Linked DNA regions of Homo sapiens: region 1 is linked to region 2. Evidence: promoter capture Hi-C in 16 types of primary human blood cells and fetal thymus (Javierre and others, 2016). All regions are on one chromosome and are shown on one strand. Each heading gives the region's core, a stretch centred on a gene start or on the middle of the fragment in contact. The rest is flanking DNA. Distances are from core to core; before and after follow the strand shown. Region 1 overlaps SLC6A3 (solute carrier family 6 member 3). Region 2 holds the start of TERLR1 (TERT regulating lncRNA 1).

Evidence for each region. Contacts are between HindIII fragments. The CHiCAGO score rates a contact against its expected background, and 5 or more counts as called.
Region 1: a fragment that was not itself captured here is called in contact with the fragment with the promoter of TERLR1 in region 2 in 2 of 17 cell types (non-activated CD4 T cells and total CD4 T cells); the score reaches 5.4 in non-activated CD4 T cells.

What each region holds. Positions count from the first base shown.
Region 1 is chr5:1,413,615-1,420,937 of GRCh38, reverse strand. SLC6A3 (solute carrier family 6 member 3) reads left to right here. Exons shown (of 15, transcript NM_001044.5): 6 at 235-369; 7 at 4,737-4,840; 8 at 6,123-6,247. Among named protein-coding and RNA genes, the nearest start is that of SLC6A3, 28 kb to the left of the region's middle. RefSeq lists enhancers at 4,226-5,198, 5,199-6,171. The HindIII fragment of the contact is 5,653 bases long and covers 3,052-7,323 here.
Region 2 is chr5:1,174,719-1,181,278 of GRCh38, reverse strand. It overlaps TERLR1 (TERT regulating lncRNA 1), which reads left to right and starts at 2,674. Exons shown (of 5, transcript NR_109911.1): 1 at 2,674-2,841; 2 at 4,735-5,318; 3 at 5,591-6,150. It overlaps LOC124900189, which reads left to right. Exons shown (of 8, transcript XM_047417960.1): 2 at 1,068-1,905; 3 at 2,000-2,841; 4 at 3,025-3,231; 5 at 4,735-5,318; 6 at 5,591-6,150. The coding sequence starts at 1,473. The coding sequence ends at 2,520. The HindIII fragment of the contact is 15,637 bases long and covers 1-6,560 here.

The sequences.
Region 1 (7,323 bases), core at 4,629-7,128, 240 kb before region 2:
TCCCTGCCAAGTTGTTCTTCCCTTTCCATCCCTGGGGAGGGTGTGCAGGACAGAAAGTGTCTGACCTTCTCACTCCAAGGAGCATTTGCTGAGCTGGCGTCCCAGGAAATGTTTGGGAATTGGGCCTCCCAATCAGAGGACAAGCCGTCAGGGCAACCCGGTGCCCTTGTGCCAGTGTCTGCTCCCACCAAGGGCCCTGCCTGTGCAGCCTGGTGACACTGTCCTCTCCTGCAGGTGGTATGGATCACAGCCACCATGCCATACGTGGTCCTCACTGCCCTGCTCCTGCGTGGGGTCACCCTCCCTGGAGCCATAGACGGCATCAGAGCATACCTGAGCGTTGACTTCTACCGGCTCTGCGAGGCGTCTGTGAGTACAGTCTGCTCACTGCTTCACAGTCCACAGGGGCTCTGGCATTCCCAGGTTTCCATATGCATTGCCTGCCAGGGCTGAGAGGTGTCAGAGTTGCAGACACCAGGGTTCTTTCCTCGGGAAGCCAAATCCCAAGTACCTGTGATACAGCACGAGTCATCTAAATCAAATTACATCAGAAACTCCATCTAGACTCAGGCTGCAGCTTTGGTCAGCAAAAGAAGACATAATTCAGGGTTAAAATATTTGGAGAAAGCCTCCCGGAGAGAGGAGACTCAGCTGGGCCATGGGGGATGGGACCCTTGTCCAGAAAGGGAGGAGAAAGGGCTGCACCCTTCCTGGCAAACAGGCCCAGAAACAGAAGCAGCTGTTGGCGGAAGGCTGGCATGACAAAAATGGCAGCTCCCTTGGGGCATCGTTGGAAATCAGGTGGACTAAGTGGGGGAGGTGGCAGGCCCCAAAGCCGCCCAGGGGCATCCATGTTGCTGTGGGAGGACAATGCAGCAAGAGGGGAAGGGCCATCTCAGCTGGGGTATGAGGCAGGAGGCCGTTGAGAGGTGCTGCCCTGTGTGGGTGGGCCGGTGGAGCCAGGTCTGGGGGTCATGAGGCAAGTGTAAACCCAAGGCAGAAGTGGGAAGGAAGGGGAGAAGGGATGGGCGGGCATGGCTGCAAGCCTCCCAGGAAGCCCCAGGGAGGCAGCAGCTGACAGGTGCAGTGAGAGAGGGCACCTGGACATGGCACCTATGAGGCTGCAAAGCAGTTGGGTGGGGGTGGGGGTGGAAGTGTGCCTGCAGCACTGAAGGGGAAGCCCTGTGGAGACAGGAGCCATGGGTGCAGCAGGCGTGTGGCCCACGGGAGCCAAGGAAGAGAGAGGAGGACAACCAGGGCAGCAAAATCAGCTGTGGCCGGGGGCCCACAAGTGCAGAGCTGGAGCCAGACAAACCATGAAGTCAGCAGGGCGTCTGGACCCCAGAAAGGCCAAAATGAAGCCAAGGGGTGTGTTTGCAGGACCATGGCATGTTACAGAATCAAAGAAAAATACCACAAGGACAACGTAGAGCCTAGTGCTCCAGCTAGGAAGAATAGGCAGCCCCAGGAGGAGGCAAAACAAACACCAGTGCATGTGAAAAGATGCTCACTGGAGAACAAATTACAAAGATGAGATGTCAGAAATTAGGTGGAGACAGTGAATAGATTGGATGGATGGATGGATGGATGGATGGATGGATGGATGGATGGATGAATGCTAGGTAAGTAGGTGGATAGGATGGATGGATGATAGGTGGGTAGATAGAATGGATAGATAGGATGGGTGGATGGAAGGCTGGCTGGCTGGATGTATGGATAATGGATGGGTGGATGGAGGAATGGATGATAGGTAGGTAGCTGGATAGTATGGATGGATGGATGATGGATGGATGGATGGATGGATGAATGGATGATGCATGGGTGAATGGGTGGATGAATGATAGGTAGCTAGATAGGATGGACAGATGGATAATGGATGGATGATGGATGGGATGGATGGGTGGATGGATGATGGGTGGATTGCTGGATGATGGATGGCTGGGTGGATGGATGAATGATAGGTAGGTAGCTGGATAGCATGGATGGATGGATGGATGGATGATGAATGGATGATGGATGGGTGAATGGGTGGATGAATGATAGGTAGGTAGCTAGATAGGATGGATGGATGGATGGATAATGGATGGATGACGGGTGGGTGGATGGATGATGGGTGGATTGCTGGATGATGGATGTTTGGGTGGATGGATGAATGATAGGTAGGTAGCTGGACAGCATGGATGGATGGATGGATGATGGATGGGTGGGTGGATGGATGGATGGATGGATGATGGGTGGATTGGTGGATGATGGACAGATGGGTGGATGGATGAATGATAGGTAGCTGGATAGCATGGATGGATGGATCGATGATGGATGGGTGGATGGATGGATGATGGATGGGTGGATGGATGGATGATAGGTAGGTAGATAGGATGGATATACAATAGGATGGATGGAGATAGATACATACACACACATGTACTTCATATATTCATAGATGATAGACAGTTGATAGATTATAGAGATGACAGATAGATGATAGATTGGTGATGGATTGATAGATGACAGTGATAGATGATAGATAGATAGATGATTGATTGATAGATAATAGATGATGGATTGATGTATAGTGAAGAGAAATCAGGAAAGAAATGGAAGGAAAGGACAATTGCAGGTCCTGGAGTGAAAGTGCATGAGGTGAGGCCCAGGGAGGCAGCCATGGGCACTGGCTCTGGTGTGGCACTGGGCAGAGGCCTGAGCTGCACACACAGATCAGGGTGAGGAGGAGGCAGGCGCTCCCCTGTGACACCTGATCCAGCCTGCAGCTACCTGGCCAGGCAGGTGGCTGATGACCAGCATGGGAGCCACATCAGGGTATGAGCCTCTCCACCCACTGCCCACCCAGCCACTCTCGGCTTGGCTCCTCCCCTCATGCTGAAACACTGGCCACCTGCAGAGTCCTGACTGCGGGGCCTGGCCATCTGCCTCCAAACACACTGTCCCAGGAACTGGGGTTGCCTTGAGGCTCTGACATGCTGCCCAAAGGACAGAGGGCCCCGCCCCCTCTGCAGCACCCAGTTCCCTTGCTCAGTCAAGCTCAGGCAAGCTTGACCTGGGACCTGGGATGCCCTGAGACCCACCTGGCCTCCCCAGCAGGAGCATCTGGTGTCTCTGCCTCAGCATCCTGGCCCACAGGCCTGTACCATGGGCTCCAGGGACTTGCAGGAACAGCCCTAACTGACCAGTCCCTCAAATGCCTCCAAGGGGGGGTTGGCTGCTCCTTCTCCCCCATCCAAGGCCCAGGGAAGGGCAAGGTGGGCATCTGAGTCACTGAATGGTCTCCGCAGTGCCCTCACCTTAGCAGGTTGTGGCTGACTTTTTAAAATACCACAATGGTCCAATCGTGGACCCACCCACCTTTCCTTTCACGTCCAGAGTTGTGGGTGCCATCCACCGAGTTGGGCAGGCACAGCACCAGTGTCTAAGCTGCAGGTGGGCTCCTGGCCATGCCCAGGTGCCACTGTGCACCTGTACTGCTCATGTTTTGGGAAGGATACAAAGCAGGCATTGCTGGTGTGCGTCCAATCAGGACACCATCATCATGTAGCATGTGGATGGGTCCATGCCTTTCTGAGGGTTATCAGGGTGCTGCCATCATGCAGCATGTGGATGATCCATGCTGTTCTGAGGGTTGTCAGGGCGCCACCATCATGTAGCCTCAGGATGAGTTTATGTTGTTCTGAGGGTTATCAGGGTGCCGCCATCATGCAGCTTGTGGATGATCCATGATGTTCTGAGGGTTATCAGGAAGCCGCCATCATGTAGCCTGTGGTTGAGTCTGTGCTGTTCTGAGGGTTTCAGGGCACTGCCATCATGCAGCAGGGCGCACATGGGATGGGGGGACACACTCAGGGGGTTGTGAAGCTGGACCCTGATCAAGGGAGGATGGAGACCCCGCTAGGGCTGGTGTGAGTGTGGATAAGTCCATGCTGTTCTGAGGGTTATCAGGGCGCCGCGGTCATGTTGTGTGTGGATGAGTTCATGACTTTCTGAGGGTTATCAGGGTGCCACCATTATGCAGCATGTGGATGAATCTGTGCTGTTCCGAGGGTTGTTAGGACGCTGCGGTCATGTCATGTGTGGATGAGGCCGTGCTGTTCCGAGGGCTATTAGGACGCTGCGGTCATGTTGTGTGTGGATGAGTCCGTGCTCTTCTGAGGGCTATTAGGACGCTGCGGTCATGTTGTGTGTGGATGAGTCCGTGCTGTTCCGAGGGCTATTAGGACGCTGCGGTCATGCCGTGTGTGGATGAGTCCGTGCTGTTCTGAGGGCTATTAGGACGCTGAGGTCATGCTGTGTGTGGGTGAGTCCGTGCTGTTCTAAGGGTTATTAGGACACTGTGGTCATGTTTTGTGTAGATGAGGCCGTGCTGTTCCGAGGGTTATTAGGATGCTGTGGTCATGCCGTGTGTGGATGAGTCCATGCTGTTCTGAGGGCTATGGAGCAGGGCACCTCTGGTTCTGTGGAATCGCTGCCTTGATACTCCATGGGGAATCCCAGATCAATGAACACAGACAGCCCCCTGCTTCTCAGGCTCTTCCAGGCCGCTGGCCCGGGAGGGTTCACTTCCTGAGGCTGCATCTTCCACCAGTCGTCTGCTGCCATTTACTTCTTGAGGATGGTGTTGAGTTTAGAGGCCTCAGTGTGGGGCTGGGACAGGAAGGGTGCTCAGGTCCTTTGCCTGTGGCCTGCGTTCTCCTGGGACAGCCTCTCACCGCCCTCTGGCTCTGCAGGTTTGGATTGACGCGGCCACCCAGGTGTGCTTCTCCCTGGGCGTGGGGTTCGGGGTGCTGATCGCCTTCTCCAGCTACAACAAGTTCACCAACAACTGCTACAGGTGAGCCCCTAGCAGGGCCAGGCAGGGGCCTCATCAATACTAGGGAGAGGTCGCTGACTTCCAGAAATAGGGTGTCCCTGGATGAGAACAGGGCGGATCCACTGAACCCGCAAACCTGTGAGCTGCGTGGCCTTTCAGACAGAAGCGACAGCGAGGCAGCTCCCAACACGATTTTGATTTCAACTTTAAAGAAGGCACTGAAGCCAGTGGGTGTGTCGCCTCCTGGGAGGGACCTGCCTAGGTTTGACCTGCGGCCAGATTCCCCACTGAGGGCCCCAAGTGGCAAGGCCAGCCCCTCCCTCCACAAGGACACACCCTCTTCCCTCACACCAGCCCCGGGGGGTCTCTGTCCTCCCTCGCTCAGGGTCCAGCTTCACAACCCCCTGAGTGTGTCCCCCCATCCCATATGCACCCCGTGTTACTTACTGGCAGGCACCTGAAGCCCCGTGCCGGACCCCAAATCCTTCTAAAAACAGAAACAGAATTTTATCCGGGATCTGCTTGCTTTGACCTTTATGGACTTGTGCTTACTTTCTTTCACATCATGAGGCTAGAAACACGGTAAAAATACAAGGACAGTGTGTGCAGCAGAATGGCCAGGCAGACCACAAGCAGGCTTCACTGAGAGTGGGCGCTGGAAGGCAGGTCCTGAGGCAGCGCCTGCCCGCAGCCCACCTGCGTCCACCTGGGTCCAGGTGCTCTGCAGATGAAGTGTGTGGTCCTTCCACCCCAGTGACAGGCCACACAGGAACCCAGGAGGAGGACGCTGGTGCCCTGACCGACCCCAGGACCCTCCCTCTTCGTCCTCGGCTTGCCTCCAGCTCTCTGGTTTCTCAGCCCTCAGAGTGGGGCCCCCAGGCCCGCAGCACCAGCGCCCTTGGGAGTTCATGGGAAACACAGCCCCCGAGACCCCATGAGACCCGCCCAGTCAGGATCTGCATCTTAGCGAGGTCCCCGGGAGGTGTGTGCTCCTAGAGCTTCTGGAAGATCTGCCCTGGGTGAGGTGTCCACAGCAAGACTCGCGGGGCACAGGGGTGGCCGTCTGTTCTGCCCACCCTGAGCCTTGATGGCTGAGCCTTGAGCAGCTCAGCTAGGGGACCAAGGTGGCCCAAGGACAGCTCTGCCAGGCTGCTAAGGAGCTGGCCGTGCTCACTGGGAAAAGTAGCCCCTCCGAAGACCTCCCGCCCCCTTCCCCAGACACAGTAAATTAAGAATAATGACTGGAAAATTGCAGCTGCTGCAGCTCAGCTGGTTCCTGAGACGGCGTGTCTTGTTCTTACAGGGACGCGATTGTCACCACCTCCATCAACTCCCTGACGAGCTTCTCCTCCGGCTTCGTCGTCTTCTCCTTCCTGGGGTACATGGCACAGAAGCACAGTGTGCCCATCGGGGACGTGGCCAAGGACGGTGAGCCCCTCCTGCTGCACCTGGGCCTGCTCCGTGTAGCACCAGCGCCGAGCTCTCAGCAAAGCCTTTTTCCTTGTGAAAGAGGAAGGAGACGCATGGGCCCTGAGCGACTTCAGTGAGAGTTGCTGCCTCACTCTTGAAGGATGGTGGTACACATCCCAGTACAGACCTGCCCCCACCCAGCGCCTTCCCCGCCCTGACCCTCCAGGCCCCCCACCCAGCGCCTTCCCCGCCCTGCCCCTCCCGGCCCCCCACCCAGTGCCTTCTCCGCCCTGCCCCTCCAGGCCCCCCCACCCAGTGCCTTTCCTGCCTTGTGCCTCTCGGGGCCTCCACCCTGGGCTGGGGAACCTCAAGCCCAAATGCAGCTGAGCAGCATAGTTGGTGCCTCAGTCCCTCGACTGCTCCCTGCAGATGCCACATGAGGCTGCCCCACCAGGGTCTGGCGTAGATGCTGTCACTGAGGGCCCTCTAGATGTTTGCTTGCCACGCGGTGTGGGAACATGCAGCTCAGGGAAGGGGAGGAATGAGCTGTTCCAGCAACACCTGGAGGCAGGCTGGGATGCCGCAAACATCAGCTTGGCCACAGAGCAGCCGGGAGATCCCTGGGGCCTCCAGCACAGGGTGTCCCTGCCCGCTCCCCAGGCCGACGCATGACGCTGAGTGTCCCTGCACGCCTGGAGTTGTCTCCGAGAGGGTGGGGAGGGGTCCAGGTCTCGGGCAGGCACAGGTGAGTGGTGGGGGGAGGCCTTGGCCACAGCAAGAAGTGTGCCAGGCAGGATGGAGCCGGCAGGACGGGCACAGATGCAGGGGCTGAGAGTGGGCCCAGGCACTTGGGGCCACGTGCCTGGCTCCGGTGCTTGCAGTGGAAAGCTGTGGCGTTGGCAGCCCTAACTTGGGCCAACCGAGAGCTCCAGGGAGTCCCAAGGCTTCTCGGTCTCTGTCAGCCAGCAGAGCCCCCGCCTGCCTCCCGGCCTGCTCTGCCACATGGATGTGGAGGAGGCCCTTTCGCTCCAGACACGGGCCTGGGTTGGGTGGGCTCCCATGCTGCGTCCCCATCCTTGCTTCCTCTGGACTGT
Region 2 (6,560 bases), core at 1,425-3,924:
GGGGCATCCTCCCTGCATCCGGGGTGTTGCAGGGTGACCTCCCGTAGTGCCAGCAGGGGCGGCCCCTCGGTCTGGCCAGAGAAGCCCAGCCACTGTCCCGTATGGTGGATGTCAGGCCCAGTGCCGTGTTTCCGAAGGAGGGAAGGGGTGAGAGGCAGCAGCCAGACACCCCGCTGAGCCCGCCCCGACCCTGAGCACGTGGGAGCTGGAGACGGTGTCACACACTCGGCCTGGCTTTGGGACCATCCCTAGGGCTTCTGTGGGGAGGAGGAAGGAGGAGCAGACGTGGAAGGGCTGCCAGGGCCCCAGCAGATGGGGTCGGGGGCGGAGGAGAGCCAGGAAAGTGTGGGCGCCTGGGGGAGTCACAGATGGAGGTCTGGTACCTAGAGCCTGGAGAACGACGGCTCTCGGGACAGAGGGCCTCAGACTCTGGCACACCAGCCGTACCTATGACAAGCTCCATGGGGGAAGAACCAGGCACCTGGATGCATGGCTGTGAGGCCCCCACCCCACAGGGGCCTCAGAGGCACAGGCTCCAGGCTCCAGCGGGGAGGGCGCTGCATCCCACCCTGGGAGCATGGCTATGAGGCCCCCACCCCACAGGGGACCCAGAGGCACAGGCTCCAGGCTCCAGCGGGAAGGGCCCTGCTCCCCACCCCCATCCCCCGCCTCAGGCTTCACTGAGATGGGCCCCGGGGACCCCGGGAGCTTTCTGTGACTGCTCGGCAATGGGTTCCCCAAGGCCTGGCACAGGCTTTCCTTAGAGCCAGGCTGTGGACCCAAAGCCTTGGGCCAAGTCTCAGGACCAGATGGGCGGCTCTGGAGAGGACCCCACAGTCCAGGGTGAGGCGCGCCCCGCTGGGGGCAGCGCTGCCTGTGGAGAGGACCCCACAGTCCAGGGTGAGGCGCGCCCCGCTGGGGGCAGCACTGCCCGTGGCCGTCTCCATCCATCTCACCCTGACGCAAGGCCGGCTTCCTCTGCGTCCAGTGGTCGGGGCCTTGGAGAGGCCAGCAGGGCCCGTGGGGGTCGCGTTTCTTCCCTGTGGCATCAGCTCTTTTCCCAGCAGGCCTCTTTGCAGCTGGATGCAGCAGCCAAGCCCTGGAGTCTTTGGAAAACTGTGGCCTGGCGGGGGCCCAGGCAATGCCACCTTACAGGGGACACCCACACAGGCGGTCCCGAGGAGGGGTGTGCTGCCGCCCTGAGCTCAGCCAGGCATCACCGTGGTGTCACCGTCAGCTCGGGTGGCACCTCCCGGGCTGCCCTCTCGGCTGCCACTTCTCATGAAACTGACAGGGACTGAACACGAATGATGTGGCTTATAGCTGGGTGCCCCCACCCTGACCACAGGTGCCACGCGACGGGAGCCACATTCTCTTCCTGATTCTAACTCCACGGGTACAGAGACAGAAGCTGCCATCTTTAGAAATAAAACTTTTTTCTAACTACAAAATAATACAGTTTAATATAGGAAATGTGGAAAATGGGGTATTCGGGGTGGATATTGAGAAGAGAGAAGCAACACCAATTCTATGTGCGAGACGCTGGCACTTCCCAGCGTAGCCTTGTGTTCCTGACCCTGGGGTGGCCTGAGCGTGGCCTGTGGGGCCCGTGTCCAGGTGCGGAGGGGGCCCTGAGTCGTGCGGGGCAAGTGGTCAGGGCCCCAGGCCCAGGCTGCCTGGAGCGAGATGACTGGGCCTGGCCCCTGGGGACTTGCTCTGACAAAACCCCCCGGTCCCCACTCCTGAGCCCCTGCAGGAGCAGCCCTGGGAACATGGGGAGCAGCTCCTTCTGCCTATGTGCTCCGGACTCAGGAACTCTGGAGAGAAGAAACACAACCCCACAGGCCCCGCCTGCCTCTCCTGCAGTCTTGAGGCCCCAGGGAAAGCCCCCACTGCAGGCAGGGGGTGGGTGCCCGAGCGAGGGTGTGGGGTGAGCAGGGTCCTGGGCATGTCAGGGCTGCGTGGGACTCCAGCGGGCCGGGTGCCTCTCGCCCTGCAGGACGTGGCTGGCCTGGTCTGCCCCCAGCTGAGCCTCACCTGAGGGAGAGCTGGGGTGGGCCGCCTCGTTTACGACCGTGTAGTCGTCTTTTGCACACAAAGCCATGTGAGTCCGTACGTGAGTCCTGTGGAAAGACAAGACATGGAATAGGAGTGACGTCCGTCCCCAGGCATGAAGTGGAGAGCATCACGCTGTGTGAGTTAAACACTGGCCAAGCACGGTGTGAGTCGGAGCCGGGGACCTGGCCAGATGAGGGCTGCGTGCAGCTTTCACACCCCAGGCACGTGAGCACCGCCAAGCCCAGCCTCAGCCAGCAGCTGCTCTGCAATGTGGAGTCACCAGTGGCCCCAAGGATGGCAGGTGGGGGTGGCCTTGGGACTGAATTAGGCCGACACCCAAGGCCTCTGTTCCTTCCCGTCCCTTCTCTCCCTTCGGAGGATCAAATGAGAGTTTCTAGGAAAGAAAACATGGCCAGGCCCTCCTCCAGCGCCCAGGCAGGGCTCGAGCGGACGCCCGTGTGACCCCCACATCCCTTCTACCCCTGTAGCTCTCTGACTCTGATATCCCAGTGGGAGGAACGAGGAGGGGACGGGTGAGGAGGAGGAAGAGGAGGAGACATGAGGGTTAGGAGGAGCACATCCTGAGTTTGTGAGGCTTCACTGACCTCTGGCCTCACAAACACACACAGGCCTGAGCTCCGGATATTTCTCCTGTTCTGGAGACAGTGAGAAGTGAAAGAGAAATGGCTGCCCCTGCACCACTTACCGCGAAGGAGGCTCAAGGCTGGGGGGCCCCTCTGCCTTCCAGTGACCGCCCGTGTCACATCCTGACCCGCTCAGCAGGTGAGCTGCAGGCTGCCAATGCACTGGTGCTACTTGCCCCTCGGTGTCTGGGTGGCTTTTGTGTGGCTGCGGCAGCTTGTGGGCCCACATCCCAGGCACGGGTGGTCCTGAAGGTGCTGGGGAAGGGACATGCCCTGGGAGGCAGGATGTCCACACTAAGTGAGTTGCTCGCCTCCACTGGAGGAGAGACGGCCAGAGGCATGGATGCACGCTGACTCGTGGACGGCCGCTGTTTGACGAGACCATCAAGGAGGGAGGAGCACCCGTGGAAAGGCGTGGCAGGGTGGTCGGGGCAGAGGTGTACATCAGCCTATCCAATGCTCACGGCTGGAGGACGCCGCGCCCTGTGAATGCTCACTGAGGACCATCCCGGGCACTGGGGCTCTCCATGTGAGAATGGACAATATGCTGCCTTCCCAGCTGCCCCATCCTTCCTGCGAGAGCTTGGGGATGGGTGGCCACAGTGGCACTGGGGAGAACACGAGGGCTCCCCAGCAAGCGTTTTCTCTCATGGAGGTGGCTCTGGTCACAGCGTCACTGCAGGGCGCAGCCACGGTGGCGGCCAATGGAAACTGGGCTCTTCTTTTTCTTTTTTTTTTTGAGACAGAGTCTCGCTCTGTCACCCAGGCTGGAGTACAATGGCAGGATCTCGGCTCACTGCAACATCCACCTCCCGGGTTCAAGTGATTCTCCTGCCTCAGCCTCCTGAGTAGCTGGGATTACAGGTGCCAGCCACCACGCCCGGCTAATTTTTGTATTTTTAGTAGAGACAGGGTTTCACCATGTTGGTCAGGCTGTCTCGAACTCCTGACCTCGTGATCTGCCCGCCTTGGCCTTCTCAAAGTGCTGGGATTACAGACATGAGCCACCGCGCCCGGCCAAAACTGGGCTTTTCTACGGTGGGGAGAGCAGAGCTATTCTCTCTGGGGTGGGTGCTTGTCTGGGACTTGTCACCATCCCTTACTCCAGGGCTGTCTTCAGCACTGTCGCCCACAGTCTTTCCGAACGCCTTATTCAGATGTTATAATTTCCCACACGATGTTCCTGACCAAGAAACGCATTTTACAGCAAAGGGGTGAGGAACGGATCTGTGGCCATAGGATCCCAGAGCCGTGTCCCCGCCACTCAGGAGCAGGCGACCTGAGCAGAAGGGCTTGGCGCTGGTGGGCAGTGGGAGCCCTGCCATGGGCGGCCCGAGGGGTGGTGGGATCCCCGCCGTGGGCAACCCCGGGGGCGGTGGGAGCCACGCTGTGGGTGGGCTGGAGGCCCTACTGGGTGTGCTACCGGAAGGGAGGTCCTGACTGTGAGTCCATGTTCCTGGCATGTTGAACAAAGAATTGAGCAAAACTCACAAAACGACAAATAACAGAGTAATGAAAGCGCAGATCCTTTGCAGTGAACATGCACTCCACAAGGGGGGACGGGACTCCAGCAAGTGCTCCGGAGCCCCCATTAGGGTTTGTATTGGGCTAAAAGAATTTGGTAACACCCCCAGGTGCCCTTTCCAGGTCTCTGATTGGCTGCATCCTATGAAGACTGGCCTGCGGCCAATCAGAGGCTGAGGTGGAGACTCCTGTCTTGTTTTCCCAGGAAGGAGGCTGCGGCCTGTGTGCCGCCCAATCCAGCCAGGAACCGGTGGCACCTGCTGCCCTCCGGCTTCTGCCTTAGCCCTCGGTGACCCCATTCCCTGTTCTCCTGCCTCAGGTGCAGGGCGATGGTTCTCAGTCAACGCTGGGGCCAGAGCCGGGGCTGGGGCCGCTCGTTCTGCACAGGTCCCGGGAGTGGCGGTGAGCAATGCTCTCGCTCTCAGCGACCCACGTGCAAAGCGCTCCCTGCGCCCCCGACCCCGCAGCTTTGGGCTCTGCTGACTTCAAGGCTTCATTCTTCCTCCAGGAGAACACAGCAGGTCCCTCCGACCGCAGTCGGCCTCTCCAGCCTGCCATGCCTCTGGCCATGAGGCGACCCGCTGGAGTGATGGATTCCCGTCACTACCACCCACAGGGCGAGGGGGTGCATTGGTCTGCTTGGGCCGCTGTAACAAAATGCCACAGCCTGGATGAGTGACTGACATTGCTTCCCCACCGTTCTGGAGGCTGGAGGCCCGAGATCGAGGTCCCTGACACTATTTCAGTGATGCCAGAGCCCAGGAGGAGTCGACCAAGCCCCAGCGTGGCCATAAGCACCTTCGCAGGACCACGGAGTCGCTGCAGGTGTTCAGCCCTGTTGAGAGTGGGAGTCGGTGTCGATGGTCACAGCTCAGTAACTCATCGTCACCAGCGAGTACCACAGAGCAGACACAACTGCACTTCTCTGTAGAGCCTCCAGTCGATACTGAGAGCCACTGGGGCGTCTGACACCCAAGGGTGCAGACATTCACTCCAAGTCCAGAGACCGCGCCCTTTCTAAGGCCCTGTCTCACAGTCGCCCCGTGCTCATTGTGCCGGATGTTTCCACAGCCACAGAGACGGTGCGTGAAGGTGGGTGATTCAGGGTGGGCACTCCAGGTACAGAACCCAGAGGTGCTTCCCGCCCCCCTACCAGGCCTTACCCCCGCCCCCTCCCTCAGCAGCAGCAGGGTTGGGCCAGGGCCTTCCTTGACATCCACCATGTATTCCAGTGATAGTTTAAGTAGATCCCACACTAAATGGCCCACTAAAGACACGATTTTGCCTCGGGAAATCTTTCTGAGTTTAGTCCACATGCTGATTTCATGTTCAGGGGGTGAATGTTAAAATCTCTACTTAACAAGGTGAGGTGCAGCCTAGTGCATATGACTGACAGAAACGTGAAGCCACAGTGGACGCCTGGATGAGACACAGATCACCTTCCAAATCTGAGTGTGGCCTTGGGACCAACCAGGCAGCCAGGGAGAAGGCAGAGACCAGAGGGAACCCAGGTGCCCTCAATCCCAGCCTCCTCTATCCCAGCCTCCCAATCCCAGCCTCCCCAATCCCAGCCTCCTAATCCCAGCCTCCTCCATCCCAGGACCCCCACTCCCAGCCTCCCGATCCCAGCTTCTCTGATCCCAGCCTCCCCTAAAACCCAGACTCTATGAATCCCAGCCTCTGAGGTGGGAACTGTTAGTAACCCCACTCCATGGACAAGAAAGCTGGGGCCTGGCGAGGCTAACAGACTATCCTGATGGTGTGAGGGAGGGATCGGCCTCTGAGGGCTGCTTCCACCCATCTCACCAGTGGCTGCAGGCTCCAGGCGCCACTTTCCTTGAGTCTATGTTCTTTCCAAGCATCCTGCAGCTCCAGAAGCTCTGGAGCCGCCAGCACTGAGAGAAGCGATGGAGCTGCATGCAGGGTGAGTGTAGGACCGGGCGGAGCTGCTCTGTGGCTGGCGGGCACATTCTTTGTCAACATGAGCATCTCTCACTGTTCCTAGACCCCCTGGCTCCCCAGCTTCCTTGGAGCCAGGCGTGGCCACAGGAAAATGTTTAGGTCAATGACAGGTGAGCAAAAGTGTGAATACAACCTCCAGGAGTTTTCTTAAAGGAAGGGACAGGCCCTTCCCCTCCTCATGTCTCCTTCTGGCTGCCTGGAAGGCACATGTGAGGGCTGGAGCCTGAGCAGCCACCTTGGGCCATCAGGAGGAAGCCTGTGCTGCAATGGTAACTCAGTGACTTGGCGAGACTCACAGAGCCTGCATTCCCGACACCTGGTGCCCTATACCAGCCCCGGGCATATTCTTAGTGTGGGAGAAAAATCAGCTTT